Linked DNA regions of Homo sapiens: regions 2, 3 and 4 are each linked to region 1. The links are contacts of gene promoters, found by promoter capture Hi-C in blood cells and fetal thymus (Javierre and others, 2016). All regions are on one chromosome and are shown on one strand. The core of a region is centred on a gene start or on the middle of the fragment in contact, and the rest is flanking DNA. Distances in the headings are between cores, read along the strand shown.

The links. Contacts are between HindIII fragments. The CHiCAGO score rates a contact against its expected background, and 5 or more counts as called.
Region 2: a contact is called between a fragment that was not itself captured here and the fragment with the promoter of LINC01151 in region 1, in 1 of 17 cell types (M1 macrophages). The highest score is 5.7, in M1 macrophages.
Region 3: a contact is called between a fragment that was not itself captured here and the fragment with the promoter of LINC01151 in region 1, in 1 of 17 cell types (naive B cells). The highest score is 6.0, in naive B cells.
Region 4: a contact is called between a fragment that was not itself captured here and the fragment with the promoter of LINC01151 in region 1, in 1 of 17 cell types (M2 macrophages). The highest score is 5.2, in M2 macrophages.

The regions. Positions count from the first base shown.
Region 1 is chr8:122,691,072-122,695,619 of GRCh38, reverse strand. LINC01151 (long intergenic non-protein coding RNA 1151) reads left to right here and starts at 1,514. Exons shown (of 4, transcript NR_126348.1): 1 at 1,514-1,739; 2 at 2,139-2,247. RefSeq lists enhancers at 698-1,198, 1,019-2,218. The HindIII fragment of the contact is 4,977 bases long and covers 1-4,548 here.
Region 2 is chr8:123,015,519-123,020,504 of GRCh38, reverse strand. DERL1 (derlin 1) reads left to right here. Exons shown (of 8, transcript NM_024295.6): 7 at 1,200-1,310; 8 at 4,920-4,986. All of the region lies in intron 1 of LOC124902013 (a long non-coding RNA gene), which reads right to left. Among named protein-coding and RNA genes, the nearest start is that of DERL1, 24 kb to the left of the region's middle. The HindIII fragment of the contact is 337 bases long and covers 1,978-2,314 here.
Region 3 is chr8:123,105,280-123,109,724 of GRCh38, reverse strand. It overlaps TBC1D31 (TBC1 domain family member 31), which reads right to left. Exons shown (of 22, transcript NM_145647.4): 8 at 4,261-4,437; 9 at 329-408; 10 at 105-251. Among named protein-coding and RNA genes, the nearest start is that of TBC1D31, 35 kb to the right of the region's middle. The HindIII fragment of the contact is 1,055 bases long and covers 1,768-2,822 here.
Region 4 is chr8:123,146,189-123,150,779 of GRCh38, reverse strand. It overlaps TBC1D31 (TBC1 domain family member 31), which reads right to left. Exons shown (of 22, transcript NM_145647.4): 21 at 652-744. Among named protein-coding and RNA genes, the nearest start is that of TRM-CAT1-1, 8.8 kb to the left of the region's middle. RefSeq lists an enhancer at 956-2,155. The HindIII fragment of the contact is 1,768 bases long and covers 1,459-3,226 here.

The DNA of each region.
Region 1 (4,548 bases), core at 265-2,764:
GCCTGAACTGGGGAGGCAGAAGTTGCAGTGAGCCTAGACTATGCCACCACACTCCAGCATGGGTGACAGAGTGAGACTGTGTCTTAAAAAAAAAAAAAAAAAGAATTCCATTCTATCTGTTTGTATTCCTCCCCCCTCATCCTCCTGCTCCCTGGCAACCACTAATCTGTGCTCTTTCTGTCATCGTTTCGAGAATGTTGGATAAGTGGAAACAGATCCGAAAGGTATGTAACCTTCTGAGACTGGCTTTTTTCACTAAGCATAATGCCTGAGGTCCATCCAGGTTGTTGCATGTACCAAGAGTTCATTTGCTTTTGTTGCTAAGTAGTATTCCATTGTATGGAGGTACCACAGTTTGTTCCATCCTTTGCCTATTGGACATTTGCTTTTTTTTCCCTCGAGTATTTTGCCATTATGAATACAGCCACTACGAATATTTATATGCAGGTTTTTGTGTAAATATAAGTTTTGATTTCTCTGGGATAAATGCCAGGAGTATGACCGTTGGGTCATATGGTAAGTGTTTAATTTTGTAAGAAACTGCCAAACTGTTTTCCATGGTGGCTGTACCATTTTACATGTCCACAGGCAATGTATAAGAGATCTAGTTTCTCTGCATCCTTACCAGCATTTGATATTATCACTATTTAAAATTTTAGCTATTCTAAGTGGTGTGTAGGCATATATTTTTGTGGTTTTAATTTGCAGTTTCCTAATGACTAATGATATTGAACAACTTTTCTTGCTTATTTGCCATCTGCCTATCCTTTTTGGTGAAATATCAGTTCATGTCTTTCAGCCATGTTTAATTTTTTTTTACTGTTGAGTTTTGAAAGTTCTTTATATATTCTAGAAGATGCAAAATGTTTGTCAGATATTGGCTTGCAAATATTTTCTCCCAGTCTGCAGGTTGTCTTTTCACCCTCTAAACAGAGTCTTTCACAGCATGAAACAAATGGAGGCTTTAAATGGCCATTTCAGAAAAGCCTGACCTAGCCTTGAGAGCGTCGGACACGGTCACTCCACCGGTTCCCACTCACGAGGGCAGATCATGGGTTTAAATCCCATTTGGGTGTGCTAATTCAGCTTCACAATAGCTCACCCACCATGGGCTTAACGCTATTCAGTGGCCACAGGTGAGTGTGTTTCAGGACATCACAAAAAGATAAGCTGAGAAAGAGTGGCCCACCGCTGCCAGAACAGCTTGAGGGCAAGTCCCCACTGACCCGGAAAGTGAGTCAGTTGCATCACCCCCTTAGAAACCTGGAAAATGCTTCATCATCGGTGTAGAGCGAGAGCCAGCATTCAAAACGCCAGGGGGCTTATCAGGCCATTTCACCACAACATAAAGTAACAGGCAGACTTGAATTCATCTGGCACTGTTGACCAACACAGAGAGCCAAAACACACACGGAATTCAAAATCAGAAATAATCCCAAGTTTGAGTCATCCAATGTGCTTGTCTACATTGATTGCACTCACCAGATAAAAGTCCAATGCACTCTGTGGGGTGAAACAGCCTCTGTCTCAGGTTGGGAGTTGCTGCCATGGAGACCACAAGAGTGGAGATTTTCTGACACACAGAAAGGAATGGATTACAGCTCCTTCTTATGTAAATTTCCATGGAGGGGAAAAAAGATTAAAAGGAAAATAATTCTGCTTTAGTCGTTTTCCTTTAAGGTGATAAGATCCTTTGATTCCATCGTGGAGAAGAAGGCAACAGCTGTTTGTCACAAATGGTAAGACATTTTATTTGACATTTTGCAGAAACTCGATCTTTAGCTGTAATTTTGACCTAATGGTTACAGTGAGTTGTTTTTAAGAGAAAGATAGATTTTCTTGAAGCCAATGGGCCTCAGACATGAAGAATGAAGAACTAATTGTACTAACCTCAGTTTCTGAAGTGGACAGGGAAATCTTACCTTCCTGCCTCTCTATGTTCAGGCTGAGTGGGTCAGAAGGAGAGTGTATTAGGTAAGAAAATTTATCAGTATTATTTAGTGAACACTGGATTTATCCTTTTGCATTCTGGCTGTAGTACCCAACTTCCACATGGCAATGCACCCTCACCTCAGCCCTCCGCCCACGTGGTCCCCTTGCTGAGCACTTTAATGAATGACTGCATCTCATTTTCACAGCTATTTGATGCACCTGCTATTATTACTCTTATTACCATTTTCCAGTGGGAAGCTGCTTCTTGGGCAGGGTGGATTTCCATCTGCGTCTCCTTTTCGGTGTTGAAAGCTGGTAAGTGAGGACACCAGGATTGGAACCTGGGTAGTCTGAGTCCAGAATCTCTATTTTCAAGTCTTCCTGCTCTCTGCTTCTGGCAAGTTTGATGTCCACTTTTGATCTTCACCTACATTCCAGCATAATAGCTACTTTTGGTTGTTTTCTCAGCAGCACAAGAGAAGTGTGGCGAGATTTTTAGGTGAGTCATCTAGAGAAGTTAATCTTATTTTGGGAATTCTACTGGCAGCTTCAGGTGGGGAAAATTTTGTTATTTTCTATCCTCCTCTAGGTTCTAAAAGGGAAGAAAGATGGTGAGCGTAGAAAGATGTGACTGTATTCACTATTCACCCTTTGTCGGGTGGTGAGTAAGCAGCTTGCAAAAGCAATGAAGTTTGGAACAATCCAGAGAACCAAACTTTCAGCTGCCAGAGATGGCACCTGGTATCCTGGGTACATCTGCCTGTAGGGCCCAGAAAGAGCTGGAAGCCAAGTGCATGGATCAGGTCTGTAGGAAGGTGGGAGAGCCAGGAATCGAGTGTCAGGGGGCATTTATTACCCATGGAAGCAGGTTTTTGTCAATTTTGTTCACTGCTGGATCACTAACACCTGGACTGGTGCCTGGCCAGGTGGTGGCTTCATAATCATTTGTTGAGTGAATCAATGAATGAATGAATGAACAGCTGTAGCAGATGCTAGCAGGGCTTCCTATTTCTTCCATCACCATAAAGGTGAAAGACATCATAAACGGGAATTTAGACAATCCTCAGAAATTTTCAACTGCCATGTATCTTGACTTGATGCTTCTAGTAGTTATATTTATTTGTAATTCAATCTTTCTTTTTAAATAGTTGACCAAGTGTGGTGGCTCACGTAGTCCCAGCACTTTGGGAGGCTGAGGCAGGAGGATCACTTGAGCCCAGGAATTTGAGACCAGCTTGGGCAACATAGTGAGACCTCATCTCTTAAAAAAAAAAATTAGCTGGGTGTGGTAGTGCACACCTGTGGTCCCAGCTACTTTAGAGGCTGAGGTAGAGGATTGCTTGAGCCTGGGAAGTTGGGGCTGTAGTGAGCTTTGATTGCATCACTGCACTCCAGCCTGGGTGACAGAGCAAGACCCTGTCTCTAAAAAATTAAATAAATAATAAAAAAATTAAAAAGTAACTCCCTTTTCTTTATTTTCAGGCTTCCTTCCCACCTGCTAATTCAAACACTTTACAACCAAAAATATCTTACCTTGATCCTGTTTCTTTCTCTATAACCTCTCTATTTCTGTTTCTTTCAACCAAATTTCTTAGGTCATCTATAATTTTGTTTCTACTTTTTCTATGCATGCCTCAATCCATTGCCAACTCCTCAACCTGCCCCAAGTGCCCACAACTCCACCAAAAGTAATTCTAACATTTTACCAATCCAATACATCACAGTTTTTTATAAAAAACTTAAGAAATATACTTTAGTTGAATTTGAAAGAGTTGCCCACTTGTGTTAAATATTTCTTTCCTTGTGTCTGGGATATCATTTGATTCTGATTCTATTCCTAATTCTCTGACCACCCTTTCTTCGTAGATTTCTCTTCCTTTGTTCAGCCTTTCACATCCTTGGAGTTCCATCCTCTGGTGATTGTTTGTCCTGTTCCATACATTCTCCTTATATGAGCATTGTGTTTTAGCTTATGAATGGTCACATGACCTAGCCAGGCCAATCAGAGTCTTCCATGAGACTTTTGTTTATTTATTTATTTATTAATTTATTTATTCTTCCACATGCCATCTCATTTAACCTGGGACTTTTGTCAGAATTATCAGGAAAGACATTCTTCTTTCTTGGCAACAGTTGACTTTTAGGATCACAGTAGTCTGGGGCTGCCAGGGACCATGTTCTCCATTAGCAGAGAGCCTGGCTGAGAACAAAGTCAAAACATGGGAAAGCAGGATGGAGAGACATATTGTCATCATGTTACCCCTGGATCTAGCCATATTTGAGGCTTAAACTTATCCTGGACTCTAAAGTTATGGAACTAACATATCTTTTTAAATAATTTAAGCAGGTTTGAGTAAGATTTCTGACACTTGCAACCAACAGTCCTGAAAAAGATACCTCTACTCAGTCTTCCTATTTCCAATCTCATAACTCCAACCCGATGCTGCCAGAAGGAATGATATGAGATACAGAACAGGTAGTGCCATTGCTCTGTGTAAGATCTTTCAATGGCTCTCCGGAGCCTATTCAGGAGCGTGAACTCAAAAGCCTTAAGGGAGCAGGCTGATGGCATAACTGAGGGAAACAGTCCAGGTGTAAGATAATAGAAAGGGGGAG
Region 2 (4,986 bases), core at 897-3,396, 320 kb before region 1:
TATTTATTTACTTATTTATTTTTTCAAGATGGGGTCTGGCTCTGTCACCGAGGTTGGAGTGCAGTGGCGTGATCTTGGCTCACTGCAACCTCTGCTTCCCAGGTTCAAGCAATTCTCATGCCTCAGCTTCCCGAGTAGATGGGATTACAGGTGTGCACCACCACACCCAGCTAATTTTTGTATTTTTTGTAGAGATGAGGTTTCGCTGTGTTGCCCAGGCTGGTCTCAAACTTCTGACCTCAAATGATCCGCTCACCTTGGCCTCCCAAAGTGCTGGGATTGCAGGCATGAGCCACTGCACCCAGCCAGAACTCCCATTTCTTATACTACAAACTACTTTTAATATTTCAATCCATTTTTATATTGCTGGTTCTTCATGTGTCTGACATATTTGCTCTGTGTGATCCTAACTTCTTCTGCATATTGCTGGGGAGAAGTGAATGGATGGAGCAGACTGTTTAGAGCAAAGCATGTTCTGAACTTGGCAAAGCTGCTCTTCCACCCAGGAAGGTGAAGTCTGAAGTAGTTGCAGGTGTTGATTTGCCCCTGACGGGAATCATGTTGCAGGTGAAGACAAAGAGGATTTGTAATAGTAACAGTAGATCTATACACTCTTGAGGTGACCTGTATGTAAGCCAAGGGAAAACTGAAGAAGGTCAGCGTTGATTTCAGGGTGCAAGTCGGCTTTCCTAAGTGATCTCTGTGGTGTCTTACACTCAAGGATACAAGAGGCAAGGGAGAAGTGCTTAATGGCTCCAGGAAAGGGGGAACAGGCATTTATTGTTCCTCTTTTCCTTACTCCCACGCTTCTCTCTTGGTAGCCTTCATGTTTGCCCACATTTTATAAATACAATATTCATGACTGAAAGCATTCAGAAGCATGCTTTGCAACTTCCCCAACTCTTGAGGCAGGAAGTAGCAAAAACAATATTTTGAGGATGGGCTGGTGCTTGAAAGAGAGGTCAGAGGGGCTGCTGGCCTTGAAGAGTGGCAGGCCTCATTGGTTCAGCAGGACTGATTTCCCGTCTCCCTCAGAATGCATTTGCCACTCAGACTACAAAAGTGCTCATTGTCAGCTCTCACAGACTCCCAGGGACTAAATGGGCTGCCTTGAAGGCTCTCTTCCTTATGCTATTAGTTAAAACTTGGTGCATCTCTATTGCTTGAATGTCTTTAAACTCATTTGGCTCTCTTTGCAGGGTAATCAATGAGCTTATTGGAAATCTGGTTGGACATCTTTATTTTTTCCTAATGTTCAGATACCCAATGGACTTGGGAGGAAGAAATTTTCTATCCACACCTCAGTTTTTGTAAGTGTTTTTGTCCTGTCTCATCTAACATTTTACTGCCTGTGTTCTTAGTGCATCCTAATGAGAGCTCCATGAGGAGTATGATTTACCCCTATGCCCCATCTGCTGGAGAAACCTGAGGCAACAAGTGACTTACCCTAGTCACACAGTCACAGGAAGTTAGGGATTAAAGCTTAGGCTCAGTTGCCTTCCTGTTACTCTTTTAGCCAGGGACCACTGACAACTAGATTCCAACATTACAGGAGGCATCTCAGCTCTCTGAGCCTGCTGAGGGACCTGATGCAACTCCAGAGTGCGAAACAGTAGGCTGGTGAATGGGCAGAGTCACAGGTTAGTGGGGTGTCTTTTCTTGGCCCATCAGTTTTTACCCATGATTTTGCCCAAGGAAGGGTAAGTTAGCGTGTTGGTCAGCAATTTTAAACATTTTTATATTAAATACTATGGAGTAGACATTTTACAGGACTGTTCAGAGTTAAAATGAGAGACTTGAGGTTTGTATAGGCCCAACCCCCTGGGAGTTTGTGCTCTTTATCTGCTTTTAGGGTTTACTGAAGTGGGCTGGTAAGGGCAACAGCTTTGATTTTTGAGACAAACTTGGATTTGAATCCCAGTCCCCTCAGATAGCAGTTTTTATACTGGGAAAGTTACTTAATCAAACCTCCAAGCTTCAGTTTGCAAGCCTGTAAATTGTGGGAGAAGCCCCTGTCTCACAGGACTGCATGAGGTAAGATACACTGTTGGGAAGCACAGTAGCGGGTTCTCGGTAAGTAAAGCTAGCTGCCATATTCCTAAAGGTGGGGGTAGGAGAGCAGGATTTTGACGATCTGAGAGGAGACGCGCACACACCCAGAAGCATGTAATAGTCGTGTGACCGTTCTGTCAGTGAGGCAAAAGGCTGTCGAAGAACGGGCCAGTTAAATCACCATCTGGGTGTCACAGCCTGCCTGACAATCATGCCTAATCTCATATCAGGGATATGCAGTAATAGCTTGCATTTGAAAGCTTTAAAAAAACAAACAAACCAAACCCTTCCACATCTTGCTAATTTTAATGTTTTGCAGTTCTGTCATTCCTCTAAGGGATCAGTGAGGGCAGTAAAACTTGAGCAGGCCTCCTCTTTCTCCCCTTCCTTTTATAGGGTAGGGGTATGTTTTTCAAAGACTTTTCAAATTGTGAACTGTAATATACAGAGATATACCATATTGGTGGTTGTGGTGTGTGTGTTTTTCTTTAAGAGAATAAAAAGAAACTTGTTTCTCTTCTGAGCCTTGAATTGCCTTCAGGCTAAAAAAACAAATGACCAATCTGGTTTCTAATTATCAAAGGACATAATAACAGCAGGTTTGGCTTTCTGATCTAGGTTTATCAAGTAGGATGGCAGATGCATCAATTAAAAAAAGCTTGGTGCTTTTGGGGGGCAGCCAACAGTTACTTTACTTTAAATGGCCATATTCTAACTTAACGGCTTGTAGCTACTTCTCAGTTGTGGGCAACACAGGATACAAGATTCTAGTGGCAAAATCAGCGAGCCCTGGAGCCTGCCTTCCACTTGAACTTTCTCTGTTGGGGGAAGTCCTTCTGCTAAATTTTGCATAAAGATCAGATGACAAAATACAGCTCCTTGCAAAAGCAGTAACTGCTTTGAAATTACCATAAATTTTTGTTGATTATGTATAATTGGGTATCTTTTTATACTAATTATTTGCATTTAATTTCACTATCTACTTAAGCAGTGGAGATGGCTTCCATATTGTCTTAGAGTGAGTAGCAAAGCAAGACAGCCCTAGCATTTTCTCCAGCAAGTGTTCTATTTTATTATGTACTTTGGAGGAATATTATTGTACCAGAAGGCATGGATGTTGAGAAACCAGCACTTGGAAAATACATTTTGATTTAATGGTAAAGCTGTATTTGTTTAAAATGGAGGAGGTGAGTATAGGAAGGTATAACTGCTTTTCTAAATGGAATGCTGATACATTTGTATCACCATTTTCCATTCCATTTAGAGTAGTTATATCTTCTCTGTACACACTAAATTTTGTGTTTAAAAGGGGTTTTTGGCCAGGCGTGGTTGCTCACGTCGGTAATCCCAGCATTTTGGGAGGCCGACGGGTGGATCACGAGGTCAGGAGATCGAGACCATCCTGGCTAACATGGTGAAACCCTGGCTCCACTAAAAATACAAAAATTAGCTGGACATGGTAGCGGGCGCCTGTTGTCCCAGCTACTCGGGAGGCTGAGGCAGGAGAATTGCTTGAACCCGGGAGGTGGAGGTTGCAGTGAGCTGAGATCATGCTACTGCACTCCAGCCTGGTGACAGAGTGAGACTCCGTCTCAAAAAAAAACAAAAAAACAAAAACCCGAGTTGTTGTCTGTTTTGGGAAGAGGCATGAAGGTATCGAGTATGATGTAAACAGACTCCAGTCACTGACTGCTGTCCCTTCCCAGGCAGGATGCATGTAGTATAACAAGTAGTGCAGGGCGCAGGCTCTGGAACCAGGCTGACTAGGTTGGAATCCTGTCACTTTCGAAGCGCTTCACTCAGTGTTGGCTCAATTTTCTTGTTTATAAAACAGGAGTAATAGTAATGCCTACCTCATGGGGTTATTGTGAAGATCAGATGAATTTATAAGCAGGCAGCACCTAGTGTAAGGCAATAATCACTGAGTAAATTCACATAGTAACTGCTCTAGTATAAGGTCAAGTATAAAGCCTGTCCTCTTCAGGGTTTCTGCTGTGGACAAGTCACCTGTCATGACTTACTCTTGCTGCCAAGAAGGGTTTAAGCGGAGGTATCAGATCATGCTCTCTGCCTTCAAGCAAAATTTTAAACATTAGGATCTGCTAAGTGGAATAGGTTTAAACACATTCTCAGTTTACTAATAAAAGAGTCAAAGATGGGAAATAGTTGGAAAATACTATTGAGAGTGTAGGCTTGGGTTTAAGTTCTCTTAGCTGTTCTGTGAACTCTTAGTTTATTAATTTTAAGGTGGGAAATCATCTAACCGTCTGGGGCCCCAGCTCTCCCACCATCTGTGAGAAGGGAAGAATGTACCTGGAAGGCAGATTCTGAATAAATTTTAAAACATACCCATACTTCCAACATAGAAAGCCTTCTTCCCCTGTCTCCTTTGATGGGCTCAGCTGAGAGCCTTTTAGAAATGCTGTGCAAGGCTCAAACATGCAGGCTGTGGATTTGGCCTTTGAAAGTGAATGTATTTTGTATCCTTTGATCCAGTTTGAGCCATATTTAGATATACCAAGATGCTATCAGTCATTCTTTGGTTGCTGGGCTTGTGGGTGTAATATTTTTGTTTCCATACTGTTCTGCATGGATTACTTTTATAAGCAGAGAAAAAAACGTTCAGAGTGTGAATTTAGCTGAAATCTGAATACATTTAAGAAACATGAAAAACGAATGCCGTCTGTGGTCAGGTCATGGGGCTGAGTACAGAAAAGACAAAGTTAAATAAGACGTCCCTCGCTGCCTTCAACATGACAAGTGCCATGGGAACAGCAGGAGAGGGAGGTGTTCTCGGAGGTCAGATAACTATGTGGAAGTGACTTTGTTCTCTTCTCTCCGTTTGTGTCCCCGTCTTTCTGCACCAGGTACCGCTGGCTGCCCAGTAGGAGAGGAGGAGTATCAGGATTTGGTGTGCCCCCTGCTAGCATGAGG
Region 3 (4,445 bases), core at 1,046-3,545, 410 kb before region 1:
GATAATCAAACTGACAAAACAATATTTTATAAACAGGAGATTTTATAACATTGCAATTATTAGTTACAGGTCTCATACACATTGCTGCAATATATAGAACATACCTCTGTAATACTCTGAGTAGCTTCCTACTTTTGATGGGGTATTTCTTCTGAAGGTTGAGAAATGCCACATGAGTCCCCTTATCTATGAGGGTACTAAACGCAGTATGATTTTCAGGCAGTTGTAGCAGAGAGCGCCAAATGAACATTCTGAAATAAAAATATATTTTAATCCCCCCAATTTTTTTTGAGTAAAACTGATGTAACATACAGAATTTAAATTGTACCTGTATTTTGTTGGATATTCACCATAGCCTTTTAATAAGATTTGTAAACGCTTTTTGTTTAATCCATCTGGTAATTCATTCTACAAAGAAAAAGACAATATTAATAAATGACACAATCATTAAAACTGAAAAGGTGACAAAGGTAATCTAGTCCACAGTGACTTCCCAACTTTAGAAAACAACACATAGTAAGACATATTTGTGTATCATAGGTCTTTTCCCCACTCCCCTCTCTCCCTCTCTTGAGCATGCATATACATAGCCAATAAAGTTCATGATATAGTACCTTCCCTAAACAAGCTTGACAAACTTTTTCTGTAAAGGGCCATGATATGCTTTGGCTCTGTGTCCCCACCCAAATCTCATCTTGAATTACAATCCCCACAATCCCCACGTGTTGAAGGATGGACCTGGTGGGAGGTGACTGGATCACGGGGGTAGTTCCCCCATGCTGTTCTCATGATAGTTCTCACGAGATCTGATGGTTTTGTTAAGTGTTTGACAGTCTCTCCTCCACATATTCCTCTCTCTCCTTCTGCTGCCTTGTGAAGAAGGTGCCCGCTTCCCCTTCACCTTCTGCCATGATTGTAAGTTTCCAGAGGCCTCCACAGCCATGTGGAACTGTGAGTCAATTAATCCTCCTTTCTTTATAAATTGCTCAGTCTCAGGTAGTATTCTTTATGGCAGTGTGAAAACAGACTAATACAGGCCAGTTAGTAAATATTTTAGGTTTTGTGGGCCAAGAAGAAAAATCAAAATTATATATTTATATATAACTACTTAAAAATGCACAAACCATTCTTAGCTTGAATAGCCGAATTAGGCCCATCGGCTGTCATCTGGGACTCCTGCATCAAGAGCAATCCACTCTGACCGCTCCTCCCCCACCTCTCTCTTTCCTTAAAATTCTAGGCAATTCCTAGCATTAAAGCATCAAGGACAAGTCTGGCAGAAAAACATGTGGGAGTTCATCATTTTATCCTAACAGACATCAGCTCCTGCTGATAGTCCCTTATATCTAAGACTTTAAAGTCAATTTTTATCTTAATAAAAAATATTTTATAGAATTTAGGATTATAAAGCTGTTTGCATATATTATCTCAACTGGATCTAACAACTATATGAAACAGATGAAATGTCTTCCTTTATTTGAAAAAATGGGAAAATCAGAGAAGTTTGGTGAATTGCTTATGGTCACAAATCTGCTAAATCTTGGCTCAAGACTCGAAGCCAGACTTTCTGATTTCGTTTAGTGCTCTTTTTACAAGAAGAAACAGGTAGTCCAATGTAAGAGAAGGGTGAAGGGAAAACCTAAGATGATGGTGAATGAAGATACTTGAGTGCCATATTAAAGGTATAGAGGGCAACTAGAACAAATGAGAGCAACATGATCCAGGAAGACTGACTTCATCATCAAGATACCTGCTGCCATTGAAGCTTCTTTTTAAACAAAGAAAAAGATGCCCTGGGGAGTTTGGCCTCAATTTGACCTGTCCTTGTCTTGGCCATGAGCTGATAAAGTTCCTTCTTTTCTTTCCACGTGCTAATGCAAAGATTAGTTGAGGACTTGCACTTCATGCCATAGAAGTGTTCTACTTTGACCTACTTTTTAGAACTGGCTATGGTTTCCTTGGAAGCAGCTCCATTCCTTGACATATTTCTGTAGGATATCCACATTGGATCCACACTACAATGCTGCCAGATACCCTGACATGATGAGGCTTTTACTTCCCAAAGTTGCTCATGACCATTCCCACCAGTTTTCCCAGAAAAGGTCCTGCAAACTCTGAAGCCAGAACATCTCAGAGATACCATTCAGCTTATCTTTGCATTAAAGCATTCATTAAATAGGAGCAACATTGCCCAGTCTTTACACAACTAGGCTAGGCTTGTGTCTGCTATTCAGTTTTTTCTTTAAAGAAGTAATATTTTGTTTAGAGTTACATGAAGAAGTTATAAAACTATAAAGAAAATCAACGGCATAATTAACACAAAAGTGAGGACAATGGTTATATATATGGGGTAGGGAGAAAAATGTGATGGGGGATAAGCACACACGGGGCTCCAAAGCTACGGTAATGCTCTATTTCTTCATGTGGAAATGGGTATGTGCAGAAAAAAGTGAACACAAGCCGGTCTGAGCCTGCTACCCTCAGAAGGCTTACTTGCAAGGTCAGCCTTTGGCTGGTGTCTAGAAGTTGAATTTCAGGAAAGTTCTCACCACCCCTAGAACCAATAAAGAGTGGCTCATTGTGCTTAAACTGTTTGTACAATGTGGTTTATGCTTAATGCCCGCCTTCCTTCTGGGAGTCTGAAATTTGAAACCTGTTAAAACAGGGTACCTACAGAACCAGCCTCTAGTAAAAATCCTGGGCACCAGGTCTCTAATAAATTTCCCTGGTAGACAATATTTCACACATATTGCCACACATATTCATTGATGGAGGAATCAAGGATGTCCTGTGACTCCAGTGGGAGAAGATTCCCGGAAGCTTGTGCCTGGTTTCTTCTGGACTTCACCCCATGTGTCTTTTCCCTTTGCTGATTTTGCTTTGCATCCTTTCACTTTAATATATTATAGCTATGAATATGGCTACATGCTGAGTCCTAATAAATCATCAAACCTAAGGATGGTCTTGCAGCTACCTGACACAGGATACATGTGTAATCTTTTTATTACTTTTCATTAAGCTGTAATCTGTTTTAGACACTCTTCTGTGTTGCAAATTTTACAATTAAAAAATGCTTAAAGAAAAAAGAAGTTACAATAGTCCCCACTGATTTGACGAGGAAATGTTCCAAGATCCCCAGTGGATGCCTGAAACCTCAGATAACACTGAACCCTAAATATATTATGTTTTTCCCTATATATACATACCTATAATAAAGTTTAATTTATAAATTAGGCACAACAATAGATTATCATAACTAATAATAAAATAGCACAATTCTGACAATATGTCAGTATCAGTACTTTTGTGCTCTACAGAAGTTTTTTAAGTAAAATAAAGGTTACTGGAACACAAGCACTGTGATACTGTGACAGTAGATCTGATAACCAAGAGGCTACTGAGTGACTATGCTAGACAGAATGATGGTCATGTGCCAGGTGGAACAGAGCAAGATGGCAGGAGATTTCGTCATGCTACTCAGAACGGTGTGCAATTTAAAACTTATGAATTGTTTTTTCTGAAATCTTCCTTTGAATATATTTGGACCACAGCTGATTACATGTAAACAAAACCATGGAAAGTAAAACCATGGATAAGGAAGGACACTGTATTAAAATCAATGTGAAAAATATCAGGTATTATTAGTGAGAATATGGAGCAACTAGAACTCTCAAATACTGCTGGTAGGGATGTAAATCAACTACTTTTCAATCAACCACTTAGGAAAACTGACAGTATTTACTAAGTTAATCTACAGTGTATCAGTCGAGTAGTTATTCTGGGGTGGGTGGGGGTGAGGGAGAGAGAGCGTGGAGCAATAAGCTGATGGTAATGTTCCAGTTTTTGATCTGGGTGCTGGTAACATGGTGTGTACATTTTGTGAAAGTTCACTGAGCTCTATATTAATGTGTACTTTGTATATGTGTGTGATTATATTTGTCATTAAAAAGTTTTCAAATCCCTTGAAAATAATGTCACTTCTCTATTAATAGCTATATTTTCTTTCTTTCTCAAAGCTGCCATATGGCTGGGTGTGGCAGCTCATGCCTGTAATCACAGCACTTTGAGAGGCCAAGGTGGGAGGATCACTTGAGGCCAGGATTGAGACCAGCCTGTGCATAATTTAGGTTACAACTTTATTCTCTTCATTTTATTCTCTTTCTTTAATTCCCAAGAGAGAGAAGAGTGGTGATGGCTTAGAAATCACAAGACTTGTCTACAGCAGAATCATGACAAAGTTTAATTACCAAATATTCTTACCTTTTTACTTTCAAAATCACCAGTCAGGTCTTGTTTTAATATTCTAGTTTGCATTTTGCTTTCCCTAGATTTTGCTGGCTGCTGTACTCTCCCTGATGTTACTTTCATCTTAAGATCACTGGAACTCAGTTTATTCTTGGGCAAATCTTCAATAACTTTCACTAAAGGCGGAGGTGGCTAAATGG
Region 4 (4,591 bases), core at 1,093-3,592, 450 kb before region 1:
TGGGAAGATTGTTAGCTTCTTTATGGATGGCCTAATGCTGTGATTACATTTCTGTAAGATGTTTCTACCCTGTCCCTTCTAAAAAACCCCAAACCCTCCAATGAACCACGTCCAGGGATCAAAAGTCAGCTCATCAGCATGAAGCCATTTGCCTTTGGCCATTCTACTGCTGCTGGGGCCCAGAATTCCATCGGAGTGCCCAGGGCAGACACATGTTTTCAATGGTTGTTGGAGGGAGCCCAGCCCAAATGAACAGAGTCAAGAAAATTCAACTATGCAATAGCTTTGAAAAACAACGCTGAGATTTTTTTTCACAAGGATGTCAAAATAGTTATGAATTTCATATTATCAACCTAGTTAGAGACTTCTGTTAGAACCTCCAACTATGTTTTTGGGCAGCAGTGCTGGTGCTCAAGAACTGGAGTGGCTTTAGTGGATTCAGCACATTTTCTTTACTTGGAATTTGGTCTGCACCCAGTTCTCCCACTGAGGAATCTGAGAGAATCTTGCTGCCTCCCTTTTAGGATTTCCATTATCAGTGCCCTGGGAAAATGGCGTCCACATGCTATAAATATAATTTAAGCCACAATTTTGCTTAAATATTGTGAAATTTAAAATGGCAGAATAACATTTTCTTGCTTATCAACTTACTCTGTGTTGAGGGATCCATTTCAGAAGAGTCATTTAATTGTGAGGTTCTAGGCAAACAGCTTGAGTCCTGTTCATTTTGGAACCTGGGTTCTTCTGTTATAAAAGTGAGGAGATTAAGATGATGTTTGGGAGTGAGTAGAAAGGCTTACTAATTCCAAATGGTCCCTAGTAAGTTACAATCACCAAGGATGGCTAAAAACTCCTTTCTTTTCTATTTTAAGAAGAATGCGGTCAACATTCAAAAGGCAAGGAAGTGTCATTAGTGAGAATTAAGAGCTGAGCTGATTTCTGTAAAACGTACTTTAAAAACACTTTCAGCTAAAACAAAAAGCCAACAAACTCAAAAATATGGATATTAAGATAGAGATTACGAAATGTGATCAGCAAGGCTTCCCTGGAAACTATTATGAGCTGATCACTACTGGTTTTAGCTAGGCAGGGCCTCATCACAACATACAGCAAATCAGAGCCAGCCATAGGCAAGTTTTACCCGAACCCTTCTTAGAGTAGCAGGCAGGGCAGTGCCCTAGCAACTAGTGGTGCCTCCCCTACTTTTATCAATTACTCTCCTCATCTCAAAACTTACACTCACCCTCAGCTGTGTTTTCACTGTTCCCTAACTCCTACAGCAGCACATCCAGTATGACACCAAGGTGTTTTTAAAAACATTTGCATCCTGACATGGCTTATAATGGTCCCTTCCTTTCTACTCCCACCGCTAGCATCTAAGCTCCATGTGTCGAGCCCAGAATGCTGGGAGTCTCATTAAATCGGTAAGATGTCTGCCTTTTACCTCTCTGAAAAGCTTTAGCTAATGGTTTTACCTCATAGTTTTAGCTCAATGAGTCATTAAAGTAATGTGACTAATCACCAATGACTAATTTGAACTGGTGGGGGACTGGAATCTAAGAGTCATCTTCAAACATCTGAAGGGCGGGACATGGCGGAGGTAGTAAACGTAATCTGCAATCTGCACTGTTCCAGAGAACGGTTTCTGCGGACAGAACTCAGCGGAAAAAGAAAAACAGAAAAGAAAAAGCAGATTGAACTATTTTACTAAGAAATAACACTTTTTTTTTTTTAGACGGAATCTTGCTCTGTCACCCCAGGCTGGAGTGCAGTGGCGTGATCTCGGCTTACTGCAACCTCCACCTCCTGGGTTCAAGCGATTCTCCTGCCTCAGTCTCTGGAGTAGCTGGGATTACAGGTTCACGCCACCATGCCCGGCTATTTTTAGTAGAGACGAGGTTTCACCATGTTGGCCAGGTTGGTCATGTTGGCCATGTCGGCCAGGTCGAACTCCTGACCTCAGGTGTATGAGGGGTTTTAAAAGTAGGCATGATTTGGCCTCCCAAAGTGCTGGGATTAGAGGCGTAAACCACTGCGCCTGGCCAGAAATAACTCCAAAATAAAATACTTGTAGCAAATGGAATAAGGTCACGAGCTTCCCAGTCTACCAGCATTCTGGCACAAGCACGCTGGCCACTGCTACATTTGCTGCACAGACAAGACGCGAATCAGGTGTGGTTCCTCAGATCTTTTTGTTTCTTTATTTTTTAGAGGCAGTCTCACTATGTTGCCCAGGCTGGTCTTGAACTCCTGGGCTCAAGCCATCCTCCCGCCTCAGTCTCCCAAATTGCTAGGATTACAGGCGCCACCGTGCCCAGCCAGAGCTGAGATCTCACAGCTCCCTCTCATCTGTCCTCCAAAATTCAACCTGCCCACTCCTGTTCAATTCATCTTCCCAAAGGGCTGTGTTGTAAATATTATCTCTGTTCAAACAACTAATGATTACCTTTTGTCTCCAGCAATGTTTCAAACACTGGCTGGGGATATTCACTCGTGAAACTTTAAAACAAAAATCTAGCTCCCTAGTTTCTACCCTAGAGCTACTGACGGAATTATTACTATTATTAGATCTACTGAATTAAATCACTATTGGTGAGGTCTTGAACATGTGTATTTTTTGAACACATATAGGTTTGTATTTTTTTTTTTTTTTGAGATGGAGTCTCGCTCTGTCGCCCAGGCTGGAGTGCAGTGGTGCGATCTTGGCTTACTGCAACCTCTGCCTCCTGGGTTCAAGCGATTCTCCTGCCTCAGCCTCCTGAGTAGCTGCGATTACAGGTGTGTACCACCACGCCTGGCTAATTTTTGTATTTTTAGTAGAGACGGGGGTTTCACCATATTGGCCAGGCTGGTCTCAAACTCCTGACCTTGTGATCTGCCCACCTTGGCCTCCCAAAGTGCTGGGATTACAGGAGTGAGCCACCGCGCCGGGCTCAAAAATGTCATTTTCTTAATGGTAGGTGATTATCTCCTGCTTTTAGGATTAAATGAATCTGATTAAATCTATATACCCTGATTAAGAACATGACTGACACATCATTCAGTCATAAACTTAAGACTTTTGAAAACTGGATGTTTATTAATCAAATTATCTCTATTGGTGAAATTCAGCAAGGTTAAAAAACATACATGGCTGACTGGTCTGCCAAAAAAAATTTAGCACGAAGGGAAGACATCATGGAGGCAGAGGGGCAAAGGTGTAGGAAAACTACCGATGACGAAAGCTTTTCACAGTTTCTTACCTTTCTCTATTTCTACGTAGATAGCTCTCTAAAGATTTTCTATTTTTCTTTCTAAAACAAGGGTAAGGCTGGGTGCGGTGGATCACGCCTGTAATCCCAGCACTTTGGGAGGGCCACGCAGGAGGATCACAAGGGTCAAGAGATTGAGACCACCCTGCCCAACATGGTGAAACCCCGTCTCTACTAAAAATACAAAAATTAGCTGGGCGTGGTGGTGGGCGCCTGTTGTCCCAGCTACTTGGGAGGCTGAGGCAGGAGAATTGCTTGAACCCAGGAGGTGGAGGTTGCAGTGAGCCGAGATTGTGCCACTGCACTCCAGCCTGGCGACAAAGCGAGACTCCGTCTCAAAAAAGCAAACAACCAAAAAAAAAAACAAGGGTAAGTGTGAGAGGGTGAGGGAGAAGTGACAGCTCCCATGATTAGTATCTTTTGTAAGCCAGTTTTAAATATTTAATTCGTGCAGAGTCACATTCTACTCCTCTCCACCTCCCTGAAGTACTCTTGGTGCTATTTGGGACCACTAAATCTCAAGTATGAGCGGTAATGAGTGGTTTTAAGAGTCGGCATGATTTGGCCGGGTGAGGTATAATCCCAGCACTTTGGGAGGTCAAAGTGGCCAGATCACTCGAGGCCAGGAGTTCGAGACAAGCCTGGGCAACATGGCGAAACCCCATCTCTACTAAAGATTAGCTGGGCATGGTGGCATGCGCCTGTAGTCCCAGCGACTCAGGAAGCTGAGGCAGGAGAATTTCTTGAATGCAGGAGGCAGAGGTTGCAGTAAGCCAAGATCGTGCCACTGCACTCCAACCTGGGCAACAGAGTGAAGTTCTGTCTTTAAAAAAAAAAAAAGGTAGGCATAATTAAATGACCTAACCTATATTTTCACTCTTCAAATTTGTGAAATGTAAAAGTAATGCACATAGCATATTCATGAAGCCAAAAATTGGAAAGAATCCAGATGTCCATCGACTGATGAATAGATTAAAAAAATACATAATATCCACACAATGGAATATTATTCAGCAATAAAAAGGAATGAAGTACTGGTACATGCTACAACATGGTTGAATCTCAAGACATTATGCCAAGTACAAGAAACCAGACACAGAAGACCATATATTACATGATTATATTTACATGAAACTTCCTGAATAGGTGAGTGGACACAAGGTAGTTAGTAGCTGCCAGGGGCTTGGGGGAGTGAGTGGAAATGGGGAGTGACTGCTAATGGGTACTGGGTTTATTTTGAAGTGCTGAAAAATGCTCTAAACTTGCTTGTGGTGATGGCTGCATGACTATGTAAGTGTATTTTTTAGTACATGATAATATAATGACATTGAATAATACAC